7 separate regions of the Homo sapiens genome follow, and all the other regions are linked to region 5. Evidence: promoter capture Hi-C in 16 types of primary human blood cells and fetal thymus (Javierre and others, 2016). All regions are on one chromosome and are shown on one strand. Each heading gives the region's core, a stretch centred on a gene start or on the middle of the fragment in contact. The rest is flanking DNA. Distances are from core to core; before and after follow the strand shown.

Region 1 (2,700 bases), core at 12-2,511, 7.8 Mb after region 5:
AATGATTTCTCTGTTTCAAATTAAAACCAGCCATCAGTTTTTGACGATGTAAACCAGTAAATTAGAATCTACTTAAAGCTATCTTGTAGCACCATGAAGGTAACACAGCTGGAGTTTGAGAAATTACCTATTTTCTGACACTTGTAAAGTTTAGAAGCATATAAAAAGTAAAATTAGGTGCTTTAATTCATCTAAAATTATATGCAAGTCATACAGAAAAAAAATTTGAGAAGTAACATTTTAATTCTTGGCAAGTTTTTCCAAAACGATGCATAGTAATGATTTCCAGAACAGTTTAGAACAATGGTTTTTGGGTAGTAGTGCAGTTTACAGAATGGCATCATTTATAATCCTTTTCTTCTACTGACCAGTTACATGAATCACTTAAGAACTAACCAGATCTGGGTGCGGTGGCTCACATCTGTAATCCCAACACTTTGGGAGGCCGAGGCGGGTGGATCACGAAGTCAGGAGTTCAAGACCAGCCTGGCCAAGATGGTGAAAACCCGTCTCTACTAAAAATACAGAAATTAATTAGCCAGGCACAGTGGCAGGAGCCTGTAATCCCAGCTACTTGGGAGACTGAAGCAGGAGAATCGCTTGAACCCGGGCAGCAGAGGTTGGAGTGAGCAGAGATGGAGCCACTGCAACTCTAGCCTGGGCGACAGAGACTCCGTCTCAAAAAAAAAAAAAAAAAAAAAACTATCATCTGTACACACACGCACACACACATACATACATACACACACATATATATAAAAGAACTGATCAGATTGGCTGGGTGCAGTGGCTCAGGCCTATAATCCCAGCACTCTGGGAGGCAGGGGCAGGCGGATCATGAGGCCAGGAGTTCAAGAACAGCCTGGTCAATATGGTGAAACCCCATCTCTACCAAAAACACAAAAATCAGCCAGGTGTAGTAGCCCGTGCCTGTAATCCGAACTACTTGGGTGGCTGAGGCATGAGAATCACTGGAACCTGGAAAGTGGAGGTTGCAGCGAGCCAAAATGGCGCCACTGCACTTCAGCCTGGGCGACAGAGCAAGACTCTTAAGTCAAAAACAAAAACCAGCACTTTGGGAGGCCGAGGCAGACAGATCACGAGGTCAGGAGATTGAGACCATCCTGGCTAACAGTCAAACCCCGTCTCTACTAAAAATACAAAAAATTAGCCAGGCGAGGGGGCAGGAGCCTGTAGTCCCAGCTACTCGGGAGGCTGAGGCAGGAGAATGGCGTGAACCCGGGAGGCGGAGCTTGCAGTGAGCTGAGATCACGCCACTGCACTCCAGCCTGGGTGACAGAGCTAGACTCCGTTTCAAAAAAAAAAAACAAAAACTGGTCAGATTTAACGTATTGCCTTCATTCTATAGTCAATGTAGTAAATATTCAAAATATACTAAAAAATATCTACTTCTGAGAGCCTAAGTGATGGTTGATATCCCACACTCCATGTACTTTAATGGGCAGTATCATCTCAAATTCCTCTTATCTATATCAATTCAAAGACTGAATCACAAAAACATTTTTCAGATGAGTCTACATTGTTAGACCAAATCTGAGTCAGAAGGGCATAACCTCAAAACTCTATTTGAGGAGCCAAATGAACAATAAGGAAAGGTAAGGAGTCAAGAATGGAAATCCCTCCCCTCCAAAAAAAGTGACATTTTCCCTTCTTCTTTGGGGGTCAGTGGTGGGTATAAACATAAGGGAGAGAATAAGGAACCACTGAAGGGTCACTTCTCATTAGGTTACATTTATATAACAGTTTGGACAAAAATCTCAGAAATCTCAGTAATATCAAGGACTTTATGATTTATATAATTATGCAAAACCAATTATTTTCTGACATCCTTCAGAACAGAGGCTTCCTCTTAAACATTCGTATGATACAAACCTCTTACAAACTTCATTTTTCTTAAAATGGAACTTTCTCACATCAGGAATTTGTGTTAGTTCTTAGAACTGGCTGTCTCTCGAGTATTAAGAGGCCCAGTGTCTATCTTAGACCCATTCCATTCAAAACTTACAGGTAGCGCTCAGGACTGTTTAAGGATTTCCATTAGTGATTCTGAAAGGTGGGGAGAACCATGACTTTATTACCATCTCATCATCCTATGAAAGAATATAAGACATTATGTAACTGTGTTTTTTTTTTTTTGAGACGGAGTCTCACTCTGTTGCCCAGGCTGGAGTGCAGTGGCGCAATCTCGGCTCACTGCAAGCTCCGCCTCCTGGGTTCATGCCATTCTCCTGCCTCCGCCTCCTGAGTAGCTGGGACTACAGATGCCTGCCACCACGCCCGGCTAATTTTTTGTATTTTTAGTAGAGACGGGATTTCATGTGTTAGCCAGGATGATCTCGATCTCCTGACCTCGTGATCCACCAGCCTCAGCCTCCCAATGTGCTGGGATTACAGGCGTGAGCCACCGCGCCCAGCCTACTGCGATTTTTTTTTAATTGAGAAGGTACTCCTTGTTGAAATGGGGTATTAAAGTGTTACCCCAATAGCATTTACATATTTAGAATCATTTCTAGGAAAAACTTAGTACCAAGAATGTCCATTAACAAGTCATGAAATCATTCATCACTTACCACTTCAGTATACTAGTTTAAAATGAAATTTTAACCAAGTTTTTATGTGTGCCCAAAGCATCATCTTAACTTTTCCAGTTTTGGATTCCATTAAATCATGTCTACTTTA
Region 2 (2,700 bases), core at 131-2,630, 7.8 Mb before region 5:
GAAGAGTGTAGGTGATATTTGAAACCATGAGACTAGAGGAAATTACTAGAATCATAGATAGGGTAAAAGGGCACAAGGATTGAGTCCTAGCACTCACAAATGCAGTAGTAAGAATAACTATTACTAGGAAAGTGGGGCCTCTCCCTCACCCCTGAGATGAATCCTAATTATTCTAAGCCAGTATGACACTTGATAGAGTAAGCCTGTGACTCAACTCTGGTCAGGACAAGGTTAATAAGATTGGCAGTTGTGGCAGGGGTGGAGGGTAGGGACACTGGTAGCAGAAACTTTCCCCTTCCATTTAACAATCATGACTGCATGACACCTGGAACTGTGGCAACCATTATGCAATCATTAGGGGAGTAAAGTCAAGAAGCTGAGGGTGGTAGAAGGCAAAGATGAAAAAAACATGGGTACCTCATAAATTGTTGAGCTGCTCATCAACCAGCCTTAGAGCCACTCTACCCCTGGATTTTTTATTATTTAAGCCATTTAATAAGGGTTTTCATTACTTGTGGTCAAAAGTATCTGGATACAATAATCTCATTTAATTTTCAAAACAATGCTTAGGGTGACAAGGAGTAAACAAACTCAAAAAAGGTTAAAGAATTTGGCAAGGTCACTGAAGTAGCAAATGGTGATTTGAAGTTCATCCGACTCCAAAGTCAATTTGAACTGATTAAGAGTTGTTGATTTAAAGAATGGACACAACTAAAAGACAAAGGGGAGTGGGAGTTGAGAATTACTGACGTGAATGGCAAAGAAGGAAAGCCAGCAAGTAAGAGATGGAAAGAAAAGAGAAGTGTCAAGAGACTAGAGGAACGGAAGAAGTACATTAGGAAACAAACTGACAAGAGGTCATCTTGAGGAGAATATCAGACTTGAAGATTTTTATTGTTTGAGTTGTCTGGATGAAGACTAGATGCAGGCTGTGGCCATAAGTAGTGAGGAAATTGCATTTCGAGTAGTTAAGGATTAATGTAGTAATATTTACTACATGGCACACATTATTTTATGCACTTAGGATTCAGTGGTATGTGATCTGAGATGAAGTTCCCGGGCTGTAACCTGGCCAGAAGCTTGAAGTCTTTACCCCAAGATATAAACAGAGCACAAGAATCAGGCTGACAATTGGGATGACAATGACTCACATTCACTAGCTTGTTTCAAATAATTTAACATACACTAGGAAATTAAATGTTTAATGAATGAATGATCTATCTGATCATTCAGCTTCTCCCATTCTGACTCTTCAAACCATTGCTTAATTAGCTACAGGATATTATTGGTTAGACTGATACAAATAATTGTCTGAAAACAATAGGGAGTCTCTGCAAAGTGATCCATGGTTTCAATCCACCTTCACTCACTAGCATGCTCAAGACAAGACGGTGAGATATATGTCTATTTTGTTTACTACTGTATCTCTAGCACTTAGAACAATGCCCAGAATTTTTGTTGAATTGAATAAATGAATAGATTAATTAGGACCTACTAGATGCCAGGCATTATTGTCATCTCAAAGGTAAATAAGATAGCTCCTGCCCTTGACCGTTTACCACTTAAAAGCTCTAACTAAAACCTCTCAATCTTCATTTATATCAAAGTGCATAGTTAAGGAGCAAGGTTGTTAAGAATCTAAAGGTAATATCTGTCCTGGATAAAAGGTGTCTAAAGCTTAATATGCACATAAATTTTTTAAAACTAACATTCTTGCTTGAAAAAATAGTATTTATATTATTGCTACAATTAGATAACCTGGCATAAACAATGATTATGATAAACCATAGAAAAATAGTACCTCCAGATATTTCTTATAAAAAAATTAATTCCTTTTTCTTAAGTACATGTCCCTTCAAATTTTTTTTAAATGAAGTGAGAATATCAGTTAATATGAAGCAACATAAAGGAACAAATGGAATCAGAAGGCAAATTCCAAAGAGATCACTACTATAAATAGAGACATGGAAATGTCAGAACAGAGAAGCAAGGTTCCACTAAAAAACAACAAAATTGTTATACCAAATGAGTTTTCTATCTTGTACCCACCCACTTCCAGTTAAGGATTTCACTGGCAAAGATCCTTGATCTTTCAATAACCTATTTTCAGAAGGAAATGTTGTCAGTAAATGTTGTCAGTAAAGGTAGACATCCTGATTACAAAAATTAAGATGTTTTTGGTTCTGTACAGATTCTTCTTCCTCTTGTACCTAAGAAGCAGAAAACCTCCAACCCAAACACCGATGCTTCATATAGAAGACAGTTCACAAAATAAAGAGCACTGGATTAGAAATCTAGTCTTGGCTCTGCAATTAATCTTGGCACTTTGTAGAAGGCACTCAGCAATCTGTGTTATGGTTTCCTCCAATATAAAATGAAACAAATGGGCGAGATTACCTTCAAGGTCTTTCCAAGACTGATATTCTAAGAAAAGTTTGTGTGAAACTACCCTTCAGTGCCATCTGGCCTCAAAGGCCCTCCACATTCATAATCATATGTAGCTTTGTAGGAAAATGATAAGTGGAATAAAGAATTCAACTTGATATTTATTAAACTTTTACCAACATAAAAGCATACTGGGCAAACCAAAGAATAAGACGCGGTCCTTGACAAGCCCTCTTTTATACAGAGGAGGGGAAAAGGGAGAAGACAAAATTTCTGTATTCATAACATTTACTACAATCTAGCCAGGGAAACAAA
Region 3 (2,700 bases), core at 157-2,656, 7.4 Mb after region 5:
TAGAAATACTTCATAACCAATCACCATAAATACATTTTTCCAAATACTTGAATCCTATTTTAAAGAAAAAGAGCATTAATTAAATGGCTTTTAATGACTTTTTGCTAAATTATACAATTCTTTAGATGGGCCACTTTTTGACATGTGGTTCTAAAAATTTTATAGCGAATGAACTGGTAATTCAATATAGCCTCAGATTATTGGACTAAATAGAAACTCTTCCTGTTCAAAGAAGAAGCTTTATCAATTTGAAACTCAGAAAATACATAGACTTTACCTTTCAAAGCCTTTCCACTCCCTCTGGGTATTCTCAATGGCTCATAATCTAATTACAAGTCACAAGCAAGCAAGAAGATCATTCCCTTGTCTCTTTCTGCCATCAACTGACACAAAATCATTGCCAAAAACCCACCGGGGACATATGGTCCGAGCAGGAAAACATAAGAAAACTCCTAAGTAATTCGGATATAAAAAGATGTAAGACGAGGTATTCTTCTGTAACTATAGGGTAGCAGTGAGCCCCATGTGGGTAAATAACCAATACAAAACGAAAAGGTAAGCCAAAGAAATCACAAGAAATATAAACTCAATAAGCAGTGATGCTGAGTTGACCGCTGAAGGTTCTCATATATGAATATAGTCATCATATGTAAGAATTTATTCTACACCTCCAACCTCAAAAGCCCTTAGATGTGGGTAGGGTTGGGAGAGTTCACGGTGAGCGGGAACCAAATGAAGTGAATGAACGTTAATATTTAGATGGAAAGGCATTAATATATGCAAGGCAGTGTGTTATGGCTTGAAGCAGTAACAAACACCAAAAAGGGAGAAAGAGGCTAGGAATGAGAACAGAGAGACAGTGGGGATCCAGTTATTATTATTATTTCCCTTTTTTTATTTTTTAAACGAGGAAAAACAGGGCCGACAGAGCACTGGCATGAGGAGGGGTCAAATGGATGCGATAGATCAGGGGAAAGAGTCTTGCCTGCAACATCTAAGAAAACCACAAGGAAAGGAGGAACAGCTGCCCACAGTTAGGCTTACGGTTTATCTCTGCAACCCAGGACAAAGCGAGGAAGAGTTAGAAGACAAATGACACTAGAAAGGAGAGACAAGGAAGGCGCCAAAACCCTCAGAGAACCCAGATGGTTGGCCACAGGGTCTTCACTGAAGGCGGACCCCCGCAAGAAACCCAGTCATTCGGGGACCAGAGACGCTAAGTCCCAAACTTCTTGACTCCTTTAGCCTCAAGCCGATCCCTCACCGAAAGAGAAGGACTGGAGAACTGTAAAAATGTGCAGGAGCCACCAACCCGGCAAATGCTCCAGCTCTAGCAGCAGCCGCCACAAAACCAGCCCGCACACACGCAGACGTTCCGACCTCAGCGCCGCAGCTACAGGTACTTTGAGCACCCCGGCCACCGTAGTAAGAGGAACCGCCTCCGCGTCAAATCCAACAGATCAGCCACTTCCGGGATACGAAAGCCTTGCGATTGGCAGTAGCGATAGCAGCGGCGTAAAGGCCTCTGCTATGCTTACTTTATCCATCCCTTTTTCCCACCTGTTCGCCACCCCAAGCCGCTAATCCACCAATGCAGCAAGCGCAGAACCAAGAGAAAGTATCCGTCTGTGAGCATTGTCTCTCTGATAGACAAACCACATTACGGCTGCCATAAATTCCTCTCGAGCACTTGGACTTCAACTACCAGCAGGCCATGCAGCATCACGCCCTTGCCTCTGGCGTAGGAACTGCAAGATCCAGCATGCATTGCGGCCCTCCTTCCTCGCACTCAGGACCAAGATAGAGCCAACCCAAGCCTCACTTTGATTTAAAAAAAAAAAAAAAAAAAAAGCCAGGATGCCTTCTTTTCCTGTTGTGAAGGAACTCTAAGCCAAGCCATTATTAGGACTGTAGGTTATTTATAAAACATCAAGGGATATGTGCACTCATTTTCCATATTCAGATTATTTTCAAGCATTAAAACACAGGACAGTCGGGCGCGGTGGTTCGCGTCTGTAATCCCAGCACTTTGGGAGGCCGAGGCGGGTGGATCGCTTGAGGTTGGGAGTTCGAGACCAACCTGGCCAACATGGTGAAAGCCCGTCTCTGTTAAAAAATTAAAAAATTAGCCGGGCGTGGCGGCGGGCGCCTGTAATTCCAGCTACTCGGGAGCCTGAGGCAGGAGAATTGCTTGAACCCGGGAGGCAAAGGTTGCAGTGAGCAGAGATCGCGCCACTGCACTCCAGCCTGGGCGACAGAGCGAGGCTTTGTGGGGAAAAAAAAAAAAAAAAGAAGGAAAAGAAAAAGAAAGAAAGAAAAAAGGACGGTCCGAAGATGCTTTTTATAACGTGGAAATTTTTGGCCAGGCGCGGCGGCTGACGCCTGTAATCCCAGCATTTTGGGAGGCCGAGGCGGGCGGATCACTTGAGCCCAGGAGTTCCAGACCAGCCTGGCCAACATGGTGAAATCCCGTCTCTACTAAAAATATAAAAAATTAGCCGGGTGCGGTGGCGCGCGCCTGTAGTCCCAACTACTCAGGAGGCTGAGGCGGGAGAATCGCTTGAACTCGGGAGGCGGAGTTTTCAGTGAGCCAAGATTGTGCCTCTGCACTCCAGCCTGGGCGACAGAGCAAGACCCTGTCTCAAAAAAGTAAAAATAAATAAATAAATAAATAAATAAGTGGAAATTTTTATCTTCACT
Region 4 (2,784 bases), core at 111-2,610, 7.5 Mb before region 5:
AATCCTTCTGCCTTAGCCTCCAGAGTAGCTGGGAGTACAGGTGTGTACCACCAAGCCTGGCTAATTTTAAAATATTTTTTATAGAGATGGGATGTTGCTATGTTGCCCAAGCTAGGCCTGAACTCCTGACTTCAAGTGATTCTCCCACATTGGCCTCCCAAAGTGCTGGGATTACAGGTGTAAGCCACCATGCTTGGCCCAGTTCTTGGGGTTTTTGAAGAATATTTAATGACATAGAAAAAAGCTTATGATCCAATGAAAGAAATTAGGATATATGACTTCATCTTAGATTTTATATACGTGGGAAAAAAAACAGTGGTTTCTTTCAGGCAATAGTAAGTAGTAGTAGTAAATAAATAATAACTTCCATCCCATGTAGGGGGCTTTGCATCAACTGTTCTCTTTCTCTGGAGTGTTTTTCCCACCTTTGCCCAACTCCTAAATGCATTCACACTTTAGAAGTGGTGAATGCATACTTCATCTCAGATTGGATGTTGCTTCCTCAGAAGTACTTTAGAACATGTATGTACTTTTGGGTATATGGACATATTCTCATAGTGACCTGCGCTTTTTTTTTGTATATTCTCCAATTTAAAACTTTTAATTAAAAAGTAAACTTTAAGGCCGGGCGCGGTGGCTCACGCCTGTAATCTCAGCACTTTGGGAGGCCGAGGTGGGCGGATCACAAGGTCAGGAGATCGAGACCATCCTGACTAACACGGCGAAACCCCGCCTCTGCTAAAAATACAAAAAATTAGCCGGGCGTAGTGGCGGGTGGCTGTAGTCCCAGCTACTCGGGAGGCTGAGGCAGGAGAATGGCGTGAACCTGGGGGGCGGAGCTTGCAGTGACCCGAGATCGCGCCACTGCATTCCAGCCTGGGCGACAGAGCGATCCGTCTCAAAAAAAAAAGTAAACTTTAATGTCGAAAATGCAAACTTGGGGAGGGCAGAAAGAGCACGCACAAGGCTGTCACTTCACACTTGGAGGGTTGCACAGCGGCCAGCAGAGGCGCTCCTCACTTCCCAGATGGAAGGAGGGGTGGGGGGCGGGGCGGCCGGGCAGAGGCCCTCCTCACTTCCCCGACTTGCTCCTCACATTCCAGACGGTGTGGTGGCCGGGCAGAGGCCCTCCTCACTTCGCAGACGGGGTGGGGGCCGGGCAGATGTGCTCCTCACTTCCTAGACGGGGTGGGGGCCGGTCAGAGGCGCTCCTCACTTCCCAGATGGGGTGGGGGCCGAGCAGAGGCGCTCCTCACTTCCTAGACGGGGTGGGGGCCAGGCAGAAGCGCTCCTCACTTCCCAGACAATGGGGGGACTGGGCAGAGGCGCTCCTCACTTCCTAGAGGGGGTGGGGGCCAGGCAGAAGCGCTCCTCACTTCCCAGACGGTGCAGGCCGGGCAGATGGGCTCCTGACATCCCAGATGTCAGTGGCCGGGCAGTGGCGCTCCGAACTTCCCAGACAGTTGGGTGGCCAGGCAGAGGCGCTCCTCACTTTCCAGACGGGGCGGGAGCTGGGCAGAGGCGCTCCTCACTTGCCAGACAGTGGAGCAGCCAGGCAGAGGTGCTTCTCACTTCCCAGACGGTGGGGTGGCGGGGGGCGTGGGGGGGGGGTGGAGGGGGGAGGGCAGGGCAGAGGCGCTCCTCACTTCCCAGACGGTGGAGCAGCGGGGCAGAGGTGCTCTCACTTCCCAGATGGTGGAGCAGCGGGGCAGAGGTGCTCCTCACTTCCCAGACGGGATGGGGGCGGGGCAGAAGTGCTCCTCACTTCCCAGAAGGTGAGGCGGCGGGGCAGGGGTGCTCCTCACTTCCCAGACGGTGCGGGCCGGGCAGATGGGCTCCTGACATCCCAGATGGTGCAGTGGCCGGGCAGTGGCGCTCCTCACTTCCCAGACAGTTGGGCGGCCAGGCAGGAGGGCTCATCACTTTACAGACAGGGCGGCAGCTGGGCAGAGGCGCTTCTCACTTCCCAGACGGGTGACCTGCACTTTTCATGAATGGTACTAACCAGTTTGAATTTATGTGATTATATTTTAAATGTCAGCCTCCCTCCCTAGACTGTGAGCTCTGTCAGAGTAGGGCCTGTGCTTGCTTTGTTCACCACTGTATCTCTAGCACCTTGTATGGCACCTGGCATATTTGTTGAAAGAATGAACTACATCAATGATTTTCAAAGTGTGTTCTGAGGTAGCATCTTATGTGTCGTGGTAAGGGACTGAGGAAAATGTCAGCTGGTTGCCTCCTCCCAGGTCCTGTTTTATTTGGCTCAAATATTGGATCCTGGCATAAGAATATGAGTATACAAGAAATTTCCAGTGCTTCAGAAAATATTGTACAAACTGCTGAATTAGTTGATGTTAATGTATCTTCCATCTTCAATATAACGTGATCCTAGGTCAAAATAACAAAGGGGGCCAGGCGTGGTGGCTCACGCCTGTAATCCCAGTACTTTGGGAGGCTGAGGTGGGTGGAAGCTTGGGGCCAGGAGTTTTGAGACCAGCCTGGGCAACATGGCAAAACCTCATCTCTATAAAAAATACAAAAATTAACTGGGCACAGTGGTGCGTATCTCAGCTACAAGGGACACAGGAGGCTGCAGTGAGCCTAGACTGTGCCAGTGCACACCAGCTTGGGCGACAGAACGAGATCCTGTCTCCAAAAGAAAAAAAAAATAACAAAGGCCATGTAGGAATATACATGTCGTAATTAGGGAGTGGTATTTGCCAGCAAGGTTGGCAGTGGTTCCCTTTTCCAGGAGCAATGAAGCTTCTCTTTCCTACTCTTAAT
Region 5 (2,701 bases), core at 27-2,526:
ACAACTATTGGTAACTTTCTCTTGTTCGATATTAGTGTAAAGGACTCCACAGAAATAAGAACAAAAAGGGTAGAGTTAAAAACCGAATTTTACAGGTAGCAATAACCTGGACTCAGGTAAAAGTGCGTGATGAAGAATTGATCAAAGGGCCTTCATCCTAGCTTTCAACTATTCTACCAATCCTCAGTAGACTTGATGGGGGTTAGAATGGTATTCCCTGGCATATGCTTTTAAAACAAAATCATTTCAGGCAAAAGAAAAGTCTAGCACCCAGGATAGTACACATACTAGGCAGGATTAATCTTAATAATTACTTGTTGAATCAAGAAGTTGTACATTTCAGATGAAAATTTTAATTTCCTAGGAAACACCGACTTACATTGAACAAAATTTTCATTTGCTATTATTCTGGACTCACCGAGAGCTCAAGATTCTAGTTTTTATCTTCACTTATTTCAAAAACCTTATGCGGTAGGAATTATCCCCAAAGTAATGAAAAAAAGGAATGAGCTTTAAAAGCGGTTGAGTAAACTGCCTAAAGTTAACAGTTTCTAAAGTAAAGAAGCAGCTGAGATTTGAACTTGCTTTTTAGGGCTCAAAAATCCAAGCTGTCTGAGCTTCACTAAAGCATGTACCACTACTTGTCTCCCTAAACTGTCTGATACACAGAACATTTATTAAATTTTAAGGATTTTTGTTTTTGTCTTCTATGTTGCCAGTCCTTCCATTTCACATTACCTCCTTTGCTGGGTAAGCTATATACCCTCAATACAACGAGAATGGTGTCAGAGTACAAGCCTTAAGAACAGAAAATTTCTTTTACTCCGTACGCCAGAGGTCTGGCGCCACCACCACAAGCGACAAACACAGGCTGGGGTCCAGAAACGCTGCCGACCGCGCCCAGATCTCAAGTTTTAGTCAAGGCCCACGTTCAGACTAGGAGAGGGGAGAAGAGAGGGTTCTCTTTCCCCACACCCTCGCCACGGTGGAAGCACAGAGGAGAAGGTTGGAGTCGCAGTAACAGTGCAAACAATAAACCCGAAAGCCCCTCTTAAGCCCGTTAAACGCACTTACTTGATTGAAGTAATTCCAGGACGCTAGGCCGGCACCGGCAACGGAAAAGGCTTCTCTGTCCTCCAGCCCAGGCGCTGGTGCTGACGACATCTGGACTGCGCCGCAGAGAGTGAAGGCCCAGCGCGAGGCCGCGAGCCCAGCGCCCAGAGCGCGCGCTCACGAAAGGAGCGGGGCATCCCAACGGCGCCACCTTTAAGCGTCACGGGTGGGGCTGCAGCTTCTGGACCTAGGACTTTGAACATGTCGCGCCTGAAGCGGATAGCGGGGCAGGATCTCCGCGCTGGTTTCAAAGCAGGTGGAAGAGACTGCGGTACCTCGGTACCCCAAGGGCTGTTGAAGGCAGCGAGGAAGAGCGGCCAGTTAAACCTGTCGGGTAGAAACCTCAGTGAAGGTAAGACCCAGAGGTACGACCCTATTGTGTCTCCTGTCAGAAAGCCTTTGGCCCAGGCAACCTCCCTTTTCTCTGGGCTGGCTTTGGCCCCCTTTCTCAGACTGCTAGCCAGAATTTCTGTGCTCTAATCTAATCCCTGTGCTCATTTCGACCGGTTTGGTTAGCCCAGTTCAGTTCCTTCCCAGGTTCCCGCAATCTCTGTTAAAGGGACCCTGCTAAAAATACGGTCTAAATTTAAACGGGGCGCTTTCTGGGATTCCCACATTCTGTGGGATAAGCAACATAATATGTGACGAAACCAGCTATCAAATCACGGGCAAATCTTTTGTTTCTTTGGCCCTTATTTTCCTCCTCTTATTGTAATCTTCAAGGGCAATTACCAAAGCTAAAATTATATGTTTTATCGGCCCCTTTGTGAACCTGCACTGTTCCCTGCCGAGACGCTCTTCTGTATGCAGCTGTGCAGAGTTCTACTTACAAGGAATAATGAGTATATTTTCTAAGTTGAAGATCAGGATAGATGCCACACAGAGTGTTTGAATGTGGGGACATCCTGAGAAACCTGTTAAAGACCAAGAAGCACAAATCTGGGTACCATGAATGAATGGCCAGATGCTCTTCTGATTGTCGTGTGTGTGTGTGTGTGTGTGTGTGTGTAAGAGAGAGAGGGAGGGGAATGGAGAGATGGAGAAATAGAGCATTTTTCCTGTAATGTTTTTCTTCATTTATATTTAGGTTTTAAGACTGATTAAAACCTTCCATTTTCCTTCTAATGATTGCTTTCTTATTGTGACATGTATAAAGTAGATTAGGCAAGCAAATGCTTCTGAATGAATGAAAAGACACAGAATCCTTACTCCACCTAAAAGAGTTTTTGATCAATGGGAACATACTCATTTTCAAACTACAGTTGTGCATATATATATATCTACTTGGTTTCCCCAAAACCTGAAACATTTTTCTCTAAACTTGCATACCTATCATGCTAACATTCTGTTCTCTTACCTGTTTAATTTTTTAACAGCATTTATCACTATCAGAATTTATATCATTTATGTTTTTTGTTTTCTCTGCCCTCCAACCAAAAGGTTAATATCATGAAGTCAGTGAGCTTTGTTTTGTGCTTTGTTGTATTTCTATCACTGAAAATAGTGCTTGGTACATAGTAGAGTCTTATTAAATTTTGCGGAAGCAATAAGTAAGTGAATGAGTATTCTCAAATCATAAGTGGTGTGC
Region 6 (2,700 bases), core at 74-2,573, 7.8 Mb before region 5:
CCCCCAGTCTTCAGTTCCTGAGGTGGAAGCATCATTAGCCTTTAGCATGTGATATTTTGCTAGTAATGGACCTAAAGTACGTTGTCTTGTGTCATTCTAATGTGCTTAACATACATTAAGGTCAGTGATTTCTTAAGAATCAGATAACTATTTTAATGTCTGTGCATCTTTTGAACGTGAAGAGAATGAAGTATCGTTTCTTTTTTAGATTACTGAGTTGGGGTTGAATTTTGGCAGTTTTGGTTCAAATGATAAACCATACCTTCAGATATTTCAATAAATGTTTATATTGTTATTTATTCTTGTTTGGGAGGGGAGAAGCTTTGTACTTAATTGGCAAAAAATTAAAAGACACTTAATTTTGCAGATCAACCAGATGCTAAGAAAGTTGCTCCTCAAAATGACTGTAAGTATTCCTTTTAAACTGGGTCAAAAGCTAAAGTAACAATTTCAATGTTAAGATTTTGTTCATATTATTGGGTATCTTTGAAGTTAGTTGGTTTATGAGTATTTTGGATCAGCTAGCCTGAATTTCTTTGTAAATATATACCTTTTTCTCCTATTTTACAATCTGTCCCATTAATTGTGGCCGGGTATATGTAAAGATTGGTTGCTGAATTATTTTACATATTTAACAACTCCAATTCTTGATCTATACTTGTACAACTTGAAAAAGGAAATTATTTTGTTCTGTGCCATTGCTAATATAATGTCTTCCCTTTCATTGGCTCTCTTGCCCCTGTCAATGCCAATATAAATATTGTGTAAAAAATTTGACTCTCTTCAAGGTGTTGTCTGTGCATTAGGGAGAGATTTTTGAATGTTTGATGTGATTGTGTTGTTAAATATATAAGTAAATTTAAATTTTGAATTTTTGTTTTATTTTTATTTAATTTTTTGATAGCTTTTGGAACACAGTTACCACCGATGCATCAGCAGCAAAGGTATAGTCACAAGATTTTCAAAAAGTACTCTGCAAGTTTTGGTTGAGCTGTATGTAAAAACACAACCACATTGGTGTATATTGAATATGTGTCTGTGTATTTTTTGGTGTACCTAGTTCATATCACTCCCCTTGGGAAGGTACCATAAAGTGATGATTTTTCTTTTGAGTGAGAAAAATTTGTGATTTGGAGAGATAGGTGGAATTAACCACATTTTAGAAGAACAGGGGTGAATTAGAGTAACTGTTAAGATGACATTCTCTAAACTCCACTTCAACTTCTTTACAGTTAATGCCTTCAGACTGTTCCATTCATCATCCCTTCTTCACTTGATGTGTCATCTTAAATTTCTTAATTTAACTACTCAAGTAATAAGATCATATTTTTTGACATGAGTCTGAGCCTAGAACCTTAGTTTAAGCCATTGGGAGACATTAGACTTCCATTTTTATTAATAGATTATCTTTTATTTGTAAACAAAGTATCTTTCATTGAAGGAAAATGGTGCTTTCTGTTATTTCTTAGCAGATCTGTAATGACAGAAGAATACAAAGTTCCAGATGGAATGGTTGGATTCAGTAAGTAACTTGATTTTTAAAGTTTTGAAAACATGATCAAAACATACTTTAGAATCTTTCAACCAAAAAAAAAATTTTTTTTTTTCTAACTAGTAATTGGCAGAGGAGGTGAACAGATCTCACGCATACAACAGGAATCTGGATGCAAAATACAGATAGCTCCTGGTAATGTTACATTCTCATGGTATTTTCAGTGTGACTAGAAAACTAGCTTTTTTTTTTTTTTAAGCCTTCTAGTAACAATAATGCTACTTTTAATCTTTTGACCTGAAGTTATCTGTTTGTTTTAAATTGTAGACAGTGGTGGCCTTCCAGAAAGGTCCTGTATGTTAACTGGAACACCTGAATCTGTCCAGTAAGTTTGAAAAATCTTAAAAATCTACTTAAGTAACAACAGCAGAACTCTTTGAATTTTGTCTCTTCTCTTTGTTACTGCTTTATTTTACACTGTGGTTTCGCTGCCACCTTCCCTCAAAGTCCTCCAACTCCTTTGAAGTTTATGCCTCATGCCTTTCTCAGGTGGGGTTCATCATCTGAATCATTAAACACAGAAAATGGTTAAAACAACTCCATATCTACTCCAGTCTCTACTTGTAAAGCCACGTGTAGCCTGGAGAAGAATGCACAGTCAGGTCGACTGGTGACACTTAAAACTCAGACATTAAGCTCAAGTGGACTGTTGTGTTGCCTGCATTTCCCTAGTTCCATTCACTTTTCCACTCCTCTCCCAGGCTCTTTAATACTGTATTTCCCCACCTCCAAATCTTCAGCATCTAACCCCACGCTCTCCCACTTAAGCTTATTTACTGAGAAAATGGAAGCAAATGATAAGAAGCTTTTCTTTTTCCCTACCACTAAACCTACCAGCCTTCATTTTTCCTCTGTTCACATAGTACTCAGGTAATTGCTTTCCTTTTGTGTTCGAGTGCCTAAAGCCAGCCCTTTCTTCCTACTGAAGGTTCAGCTTGCAGTTGTACTTTCTTCTGCATTGTTAGTTCTCCCTCATTACTAGGTTTTTTCTTTTCTTTTTTTTGAGACGAAGTCTCGCTCTGTTGCCAGGCTGGAGTGCAGGGGCACGATCTCGGCTCACTGCAACCTCCGCCTCCCGAGTAGCTGGGACTACCGGTGCATGCCACCACACCCAGCTAATTTTTGTATTTTTTTAGTAGAGACAGGGT
Region 7 (2,700 bases), core at 152-2,651, 7.8 Mb after region 5:
TGTTGAAAACTGGTAGGGTTCAAGATATATTTTGAGCACAGCCAACGAGCTCTACTGATGGATTGGCTGTATGATAATGTAAGAAAAAACAGGTCGGGTAGCCAGGGCCGGTGGACCGCTTGAACCCAGGAGTTCAAGATCAGCCTGGGCAACATGGCAAGACCCATCGCTACAAAAAACTCCAAAAATTGGCCGTGCGTGGTGGCACGTGCCTGTAGTCCCAGCCACTCGGGAGGATGAGGGAGGAGGATCCCCTGGCTGCAGTGAGCCGAGATGCACCACTGCACTCCAGCCTGGGCAACAGTGTGAGGCCCTGCCCTCCACCCTCCCACCCGAAAAAAGAAAAAAAAACAAAGAGTAACGATTTTTTTTTTAACCTGAGCAACTCAGTGTTGGTCCTTGCTAAAATGGGGGTCTTAGTAGGCTCAATGGGAAGGATCATCGTTCTTAGAATATTAAGATTGAGGTGTTTAACGTACAAACAGATGTTGAACCAGCAGATCACGAAATACACAAGGACAAGATTAGAAAATGTATATAGGTCAGTCTTAGCCATTGTGCACCACAGAGTGGCAGTGTCTCATTTTCTAGTACTAGCATAATTATTGCTACTTTCAAACTCTACGAGAACAGATAAGCAATTCTACTTTCCCATATTCCTGAGATCCTATTGTCTGCAGCCACTATTCTTCCTGTACACAATGTGTGGTATCAGTTAAGATTCATTTGCGGAAAATAGAATCCATTTTAGCTAGTATAAACACAAAGATATTGAATACTTGGGAGGGTTGATTAAATAGGCTCTAGATTAGTTTTTCAGGAATGAGTCCCAAAGTCTTCCCAGAACCAGGCCACCAAGGAAGCAATGACTCTTCTATGATCAGGAAATGACGTCTCTGAATCACACTGCTGCTGCCATGCCTAGGAAACCACCATCAGAAAGCTGCGTGCACCGCTGACCCTAGAACCACACTATACCCACTATGATCTGCACCAGTGCCATGCATATCCTACGTCCCGTCTGTCAAGGCCCACAGGACAAGTGGCTAGACACTGAGGTTTCTGCTAATGCTGCTTCAGAAAAATCAAACACCTCCACAACTGTGCTTGTCAACAGCAATAGCAGAAGTTTGGTGTGTCTCTGGCAATATGATTAATGTAAAAATTTAATATGCTTCTCATTCTTTTGCTTTCAGTCAGTTGTTTGTGGGAGAAATTCTAGCCACAGTTCTTGCCTAGATGAGTTTTTAAGCCCCGAAACTTTTTTCCCAGTTTCTGTGTGCTCCCCAGTTACCCCACTCTTAATGACAGCTAATCCCTTTGGAAACAATGGGATTTAATAGGTTCACAGCATTCTCAATCCTATATTTGTCAGTCTTGTGTGGGTAAATGCCAGGCATATTTCCTTCCAAAGTTTCACAGGCACTGTTTCTGTGTACAGTCATCCCTTGGTATCCATGGGGGATTGGTTCCAGGACCGTTATGGATATCAAAATCCGAGGATGCTCAAGTCCCATATATAAAATGGCATAGTATTTGCATACAACTTATGCACATCCCACCTATACTTTAAATCATCTCTAGATTACTTAATTACCTAATACAATGCCTACACATCATTCACATGGATTTAACATAGTATTTAACACTTGGCACGTGGCAAATTCAAGTTTTGCTTTTTGGAACTTTGTGTACCTTTTTCATAAGATTTTTTGATCTGTGGTTGGTTGAATCCATGTATATGGAACCCATGAATGTGGAGGGCCAACTGTACTTCAGTCTAAAGGTATAGAAGAAGTGTGGTTTTTTTCCGCCCTTTAAATCTTCAAATTATGAAACTTTTATTTTTATTTTTTTGAGATGGAGTCTTGCTCTGTCCCCCAGGCTGGAGTGCAATGGCATGATCTTGGCTCACTGCAACCTCCACCTCCTGGGTTCAAGCAATTCTCCTGCCTCAGCCTCCCAAGTAGCTGGGATTACTGGTGCCTGCCACGACGCCCAGCTAATTTTTGTATTTTTAATAGAGACGGGGTTTCACAGTGTTGGCCAGGCTAGTCTCGAACTCCTGACCTCGTGATCCGCCTCGGCCTCCCAAAGTGCTGAGATTACAGGCATGAACCACCACGTCCCGCCCAAATTATGAGACTTTTAATCCACTTGGATTACAGCAGAATTTCTCCTTTAGCAAAACTGTATTCTTTTCCATTTCTACATGCAAATTGGTTACTTCTGGCCTGAATTCATATCTCATAGAACTTGGTTTAAAGTGTCAAGAAAAAGCCAGCAAATACCAAGTTTATAGATATTTCCAGCCATTTCCCTTCGTGCCACAATTTTGATTGGCGTGTGATCTGTCTTCTAAAGCTGGCAACAGGTTTACCAAATGTCTGGCAACTGGAGAACAAAGGTCACCAGTTTTCCATCTTGCAGTATCTGAGTCTTTACCACCCACTGCCCAAATGCTTCCACTAAAAACCACATTTCTTTTAAGGTTATGTGTAGCACAAATTTATAGGAACCAAACTCTGCATCCGATAGGAATAGGTTTGTTTATAAGTAACAGAATATTTTTAAGTGTCCTTAGCTAAAATTAATATTCATGTCTTTATCATGTATACATAATGCAGAAGTAGGCAGTCTAGATTAGTATGGTGGTTCTGTGACCATCAGGGACCTAATTAATTTCTTCCATTCTCAACA

What was found. The method cuts DNA at HindIII sites, captures the fragments that hold promoters and counts their contacts. A CHiCAGO score of 5 or more calls a contact.
Region 1: a contact is called between a fragment that was not itself captured here and the fragment with the promoter of LRRC40 in region 5, in 1 of 17 cell types (total CD4 T cells). The highest score is 5.3, in total CD4 T cells.
Region 2: a fragment that was not itself captured here is called in contact with the fragment with the promoter of LRRC40 in region 5 in 1 of 17 cell types (total CD4 T cells); the score reaches 8.4 in total CD4 T cells.
Region 3: the fragment with the promoter of ATG4C here is called in contact with the fragment with the promoter of LRRC40 in region 5 in 9 of 17 cell types (total CD4 T cells, non-activated CD4 T cells, naive CD8 T cells and 6 more); the score reaches 27.0 in total CD4 T cells.
Region 4: a fragment that was not itself captured here is called in contact with the fragment with the promoter of LRRC40 in region 5 in 3 of 17 cell types (naive CD8 T cells, total CD4 T cells and naive B cells); the score reaches 8.6 in naive CD8 T cells.
Region 6: a fragment that was not itself captured here is called in contact with the fragment with the promoter of LRRC40 in region 5 in 2 of 17 cell types (total B cells and fetal thymus); the score reaches 12.3 in total B cells.
Region 7: a contact is called between a fragment that was not itself captured here and the fragment with the promoter of LRRC40 in region 5, in 4 of 17 cell types (non-activated CD4 T cells, total CD4 T cells, naive CD4 T cells and 1 more). The highest score is 22.9, in non-activated CD4 T cells.

What each region holds. Positions count from the first base shown.
Region 1 is chr1:62,451,985-62,454,684 of GRCh38, reverse strand. No RefSeq gene overlaps it. Among named protein-coding and RNA genes, the nearest start is that of USP1, 16 kb to the right of the region's middle. The HindIII fragment of the contact is 5,172 bases long and covers 1-2,700 here.
Region 2 is chr1:77,984,567-77,987,266 of GRCh38, reverse strand. It overlaps a transcript of DNAJB4 not described here. Among named protein-coding and RNA genes, the nearest start is that of FUBP1, 6.8 kb to the right of the region's middle. The HindIII fragment of the contact is 598 bases long and covers 1,082-1,679 here.
Region 3 is chr1:62,782,838-62,785,537 of GRCh38, reverse strand. It overlaps ATG4C (autophagy related 4C cysteine peptidase), which reads right to left and starts at 1,406. Exons shown (of 11, transcript NM_032852.4): 1 at 1,265-1,406. RefSeq lists a silencer at 926-1,220 and enhancers at 1,196-1,375, 1,496-1,555, 1,656-1,705. The HindIII fragment of the contact is 3,523 bases long and covers 241-2,700 here.
Region 4 is chr1:77,685,992-77,688,775 of GRCh38, reverse strand. No RefSeq gene overlaps it. Among named protein-coding and RNA genes, the nearest start is that of ZZZ3, 4.7 kb to the right of the region's middle. The HindIII fragment of the contact is 2,227 bases long and covers 247-2,473 here.
Region 5 is chr1:70,204,154-70,206,854 of GRCh38, reverse strand. LRRC40 (leucine rich repeat containing 40) reads left to right here and starts at 1,276. Exons shown (of 15, transcript NM_017768.5): 1 at 1,276-1,465. The coding sequence starts at 1,315. It also overlaps a transcript of SRSF11 not described here. RefSeq lists enhancers at 1,053-1,362, 1,623-1,682. The HindIII fragment of the contact is 8,465 bases long and covers 1-2,701 here.
Region 6 is chr1:77,965,871-77,968,570 of GRCh38, reverse strand. It overlaps FUBP1 (far upstream element binding protein 1), which reads left to right. Exons shown (of 20, transcript NM_003902.5): 3 at 368-406; 4 at 905-944; 5 at 1,470-1,522; 6 at 1,616-1,687; 7 at 1,820-1,877. Among named protein-coding and RNA genes, the nearest start is that of FUBP1, 12 kb to the left of the region's middle. The HindIII fragment of the contact is 1,999 bases long and covers 324-2,322 here.
Region 7 is chr1:62,432,305-62,435,004 of GRCh38, reverse strand. No RefSeq gene overlaps it. Among named protein-coding and RNA genes, the nearest start is that of USP1, 3.4 kb to the left of the region's middle. The HindIII fragment of the contact is 3,951 bases long and covers 1-2,700 here.